2 separate regions of the Homo sapiens genome follow, and region 1 is linked to region 2. The links are contacts of gene promoters, found by promoter capture Hi-C in blood cells and fetal thymus (Javierre and others, 2016). All regions are on one chromosome and are shown on one strand. The core of a region is centred on a gene start or on the middle of the fragment in contact, and the rest is flanking DNA. Distances in the headings are between cores, read along the strand shown.

Region 1 (2,700 bases), core at 180-2,679, 57 kb before region 2:
TGAAGGACATCTCTGCAGAACGCCATGTAACAGTGGCTCAGTCTTCGTCACAATTCAACTCCTTCTGTCCAATCCTGCTCCCCTCACTATATATTGTTTGTGAGAACACTCTGATAAACTTTCTGCCTAAAAATATCTCTCTGTCTCAGTTTGTTTGCCCAGAACCCAAAGACACCAATGTTTGTATAATAAAACTCAGACTGAGATAAGCTTAATATTTAAATTAAAACTTAAGTCCAGATTAGCCAATTCCAAGTGTTTTGATACTTTTTCCAGTCCCAACCTTCATCTAGTGTATTGGTGCATCAAAGGGACCCGTGTGTGTGTGTGTATATATATATGAGATACTAGGATATTAAAAAGTATACTTCATTTTAAATTATCTACTTTAACACAGAGAAACAGCTTAAACAATCAGAGAATACAGTTAACATGAAAATGTATTTTCTTCTACGTAACAAATGATGGGTAACATGGCTCTACAAGATGTGTTTCCATAAGATCTTCTTTAGGGCCTTTTTTACATCCTTATTTTTTAAACTATAGATGAGGGGATTTAGCACAGGGATTATTACTGTATAAAAGACAGAGACAACCTTGTCTTGCTCCATTGAGTAGCTAGATGTAGGGCGCAAGTACATGAAGAGGATTGTTCCAAAGAATATGGTGACAGCCATGAGGTAAGAGGCACAGGTGGAGAAGGCTTTGTGCCTGCCCTCTAACGAAGGCATCTTCAAGACGGCAATGAAGATACACAGGTAGGAAATGAGGACAATCATAACACAGCTGATGACAATAAAACTTGAGAATGCCATGATCACAATGCCATTGAAGTGGGTATCAGAGCAAGAGAGTTTGAGCAGTGGCGGGGTGTCACAGTAGAAATGGTTGATCCTATTAGAACCACAAAAGGACAACCTAAAAGTCATCCCTGTATGTATGGCTGCATTTCCACAACCTGCTAAGAAGGAGGTAGCTATTAGCAAAAAGCAAATTCTCCCAGACACGAGAACTGGGTAGAGCAGGGGGTTCCAAATGGCTGCATAGCGGTCATATGCCATCATGGCCAACAGGAAGCACTCAGTCCCCAGGAAGGAGCCAAAGAAGTAGAACTGGGCAGCACATCCATGAAAAGAAATGGCCTTATTCTCAGCCATGAGGTTCACCAGCATCTTGGGAGTGACGGAAGAAGAGTAAGAGGCATCTACAAAAGAGAGGCTACTGAGAAAGAAATACATGGGGGTGTGGAGACAGAGATCAATCTTAATCAATACAATCATCCCCAAATTGCCCACCATGTTTGCCATATAGATCAACAGAAACAATGCAAAGAGGACTCCTTGTAGATCTGGATTGTCGGAAAGTCCTAAGAGGAGAAATTCTGTTACTTCTGTTTGATTTCTGCCTCGAACCTCTTTCATAAGTCTCATCATTTGAGCTGCAATAAGAAAGAAGATGCACAGTGGAATTTAGTCAGATGAATACATGATGGAGCTATAATATATTTTTAGTGAAACAACTTCTAACAGAAGAGCAAAAAGTGAAAAGCATAATAAAAGGTATGTTGGATTTGATGCCAAATCAAAAGACTTGTAGTACTAGATGTGCTGTCTACTAATGACTGAAGCAAGTGATTTAGTGTGTATTAACTATGGTCATTCCTACAGTTAACTCTTTATTGAATAATTAAAATAACTTATTCTTAAGATGTGACTGTCATAATTACTTGTGATAAATAAATTAATTTATATATACTGACATACCCTCCAGACACAACTTCTGGAGAAGGATGATAGAATGAATTCAGGACACTTACAATTCCTCCTCAGTACTAATAGAATGAATAAAAATATTGAAAGTTAATAAAATTAATCTATAGTGCCAGACAAGAAAAATAGTTGGGCTGGGCCTGGTGGCTTACAACTGTAATCCCAGTACTTTGAGAGACCAAGGCAAGGCAGATCACTTGAGCTCAAGAGTTAAAGACCAGCCTGGGCAATGTGGCAAAATCTCCTCTCTGCAATATTTAAAAAAAAAAAAAAAAAAAGCTATGTGTGGTGGCTCATCCCTGTGGTCTCAGCTACTCAGGAGGCTGAGGTGGGAGGATTGCTTGACCCCAGGAGTTTGAGGCTGCACTGAGCTGGGTTTGCACCACTGCACCACTCCAGCCTGTGCAGTAGAGTGAGACGGTGCCAAAAAAAAAAAAAAAAGAGAAAGAAAGAAAGAAGGAAACAAAGAAAGAAAGAAAGAAGGAAGGAAGGAGAGAGAGAAGGAAGGAAGGAAGGAAGGAAGGAAGGAAGGAAGGAAGGAAGGAAGGAAGGAAAAAAGAAAGAAAGGAAAGAAAGAAAGAGAGAAGGAAAGAAAGAGAAAAGAAAGAAAGAAAGAAAAACAGCAGAATCTCTTGGGGTAGAGGAAGAGCTTAAAAATGCCTGGCCAAAGAAGAAAATAGAGAATATTCCCACACAGCCAGTACAGTTCGAACCCCACTCTGATTTTCCATAATAAACATCTACAGAGAACAGAATAGGGTCAGTTAAATAGTAATTTTCCACAATTCATTCCAATATTTAGAGAATCAGATTGTAAGAATGAGTAGGCATCCCCGATAAAAATGGCAGAAGTAGCCAAGCCAGTGAAAATCTCTAATACTCACATTCACAAGTTCTCAAGAGAACCAGAAAACATCAGAAGTAGCACATG
Region 2 (2,700 bases), core at 23-2,522:
CCTTGGTTCCATGTTTTCAAAGATGTTGCCTCATCCAAAAAATTGTTCTAATTTTGTATGAAGTAATCAATTTAAGACAAACAGCCCATATGGCCACAGAATGAAACTACAAATCAAAATGATTTAACATTAAAATGATACATGTTTTCCAACAAATGCAGATGGAAAAAGAGCATTTTCTAATGAAGGGAAAATAACAGAAGTTAAACTAATGAGACGTAATATAAGATAACAAGCAGAGCTACAAGACAACAGTGAAGTAGGAAAGGGACATAAGAATTTCAGGGAAGTAGGTTGCAATATGGTGATCAGGGAACAACTTTAGAAGCCGTTAAGAACTGAGAAATGTGAGGGAACTGGCTATAAAGACTCCTAAGGGGAAGAGCATTGCAACAACAGCGTGGAGTGAAGGCAAGGCATTGCTCATACCATGGTATTCTAGAAACTGAATTATAGAATCATACTATGTTATTCTAGAAACTGAATTCTAGATCATACCATGTTATTCTAGAAACCCTTTGGAATGGATTGAACAAAGAGGAAAAGAGTAGGAGACACAAGCAAGTGAGTAAAGAGGGCAAAAGCACAAAGATCTTGCACATCTTTGTAAGAGTCTAACTTTTACTCTGAATAAGTGGAAAAGTCATTGGATGGAGTTCTTAGAAGAGAAAACTAACATGATCTAACTGGCATTTTAACAGGACCATTTTGGCTGCCATGTGGAAAGACTCAAGTGGGATAAGAATAAAAGCAGGAAGACCAATTAGAGGCCAATCATGGCCCCATGTAGAGTGAAAACACTGGAGCTGGGAGAAACTAGTCATGTTCTAGATGCATTTTGAAGGTAGAATCTAGGAGATGTTGCTAATTAATAAGCGACAGAGTGTAAGAAAGAGAGTGGTCAAGAATAATATAAAACGACTCTCCCTAACATGGAATAATGCCATTTACTGCAGTGGAGAAGACTGAATGAGGATCAGGTTAGGGAGGATTGTTAGTAAAATTTTTTTCTTAATGATAACACTTAAGCAAATAATATAGCTCTTAGAATACAATGATAAAACAGTATTCCCTGTGAACTCAATTTTCTTAAGATGCCCAGGAGACATTAGGGAAGAAATATTAATTGGGCATTGGAATCCATGAGTCTCACTTCAGGGAGGAGGCATAGTCAGGGGAGGTAACATTGGAGTCATGTGCATATGGAAGCATTTAAAGTCATCAGATTGGATGAGATTACCAGAAACTGATGGCAGATGGAGAAGACCAGTGGTTCAAGCGCTGATTCTGGGGACACTCCAAAGTTCAAAAGTCTGTTCTGTAGCACTGAGACACATGCAGCAAGAGAAGTAGAAGCAAACCAGACAGGTATGACAACCTGAAAACCAAGTAAAGATTTTCCAGCAGAGAAGGAGTGAGAAACTATGACAAACGCTGCAGGTAGATCTAATCAGAAGAGAACTTCATCATTCGGTTTAATCATGTGAGATCATTGCAACTTGAATGGAGTAGAGGTAGCAAAAGCTCAAGTGGAACAATCTTATATTGTTCTATATTTACTCAGAAATAACACTGTTTACTAACATTGATGTTTATTAATGCTAATATTGAGAGTTGAGTGTGAACTGAGTGTTTTTCCTAGGTCCCAAGAGGAAGATCATACAAATACAAATCATGTACACTTGAATTTTAACTTATTTACCTACAAAATGACTTAGGTTAATGAGAAGTTAGTCTGTCAAGAATTGTCTTTACAGTGTAAGACAGATGTATGCTAGATATATTTTGCTCTACCCATTTCAATAGAACATTTGTAGTTCTATATGAAGAGAATCCTGAAGAGAGTGGGTAGATTTTCAAGTCATCATAAGAAATACTGTAGTATACATAAATTACATTTAAAACTGGTGTTTCAATTATTGTTATTATTGTGTTTATTATAGAATATGTGTAAAATATAGTAAATACTGTGTACTTCGTAATTTCATCATTGTATATCATTCTTCTGTACACATTTTCCCCAAAACATTGTATCTATTCTCTTTTCCCTTTATACTTTTCTTAGTATTTTCTTAGGCCTATATATAATATTATGAGATATGAATTTATAATGCTTTCATAATGTTTCAATGCATAGAAACTAGAGGAAAAATACTTTATTCTTTTTAAACTATATTTAAAAGAGGGATGCCCAGTATTTTAAAGACAAACAAGTGATACTTAAAAATAGAAATGTACACATTTAGCAAAAGAGAAAATTGACAAAAGGAAGAGGATCAAAGTATAAGAAAAATAGCAATTATAAGTACATCTTTTCTTCACTTGAACAGTCATTCCTAAAGGAAAAACATAATTAAACAACTTAAGAAATTTAGAATTGAATACATAATTGCAAAGCCTGATTGTTGCAAAATGAAGACTTTCTAAAACAAACAATTAGATTGTTGGTTCTAGACTTCACGAAACACTGCAAATGTGATCTTATGTAACATAATTCTACATATTCATGACAGTAATGCAAACTGAGCTCATTTTCTTTCCCCATAGGTGAGATTCCTTACAGCCATGCAGAGGAGCAATCATACAGTGACTGAGTTTATACTGCTGGGCTTCACCACAGACCCAGGAATGCAGCTGGGCCTCTTCGTGGTGTTCCTGGGCGTGTACTCTCTCACTGTGGTAGGAAATAGCACCCTCATC

What was found. The method cuts DNA at HindIII sites, captures the fragments that hold promoters and counts their contacts. A CHiCAGO score of 5 or more calls a contact.
Region 1: a contact is called between the fragment with the promoter of OR5AP2 here and the fragment with the promoter of OR9G1 in region 2, in 3 of 17 cell types (neutrophils, total B cells and naive B cells). The highest score is 8.6, in neutrophils.

The regions. Positions count from the first base shown.
Region 1 is chr11:56,641,010-56,643,709 of GRCh38, forward strand. It overlaps OR5AP2 (olfactory receptor family 5 subfamily AP member 2), which reads right to left and starts at 1,430. Exons shown (of 1, transcript NM_001002925.1): 1 at 480-1,430. The coding sequence starts at 1,430. The coding sequence ends at 480. The HindIII fragment of the contact is 8,469 bases long and covers 209-2,700 here.
Region 2 is chr11:56,697,823-56,700,522 of GRCh38, forward strand. OR9G1 (olfactory receptor family 9 subfamily G member 1) reads left to right here and starts at 1,273. Exons shown (of 2, transcript NM_001005213.2): 1 at 1,273-1,368; 2 at 2,548-2,700. The coding sequence starts at 2,566. The HindIII fragment of the contact is 13,944 bases long and covers 1-2,700 here.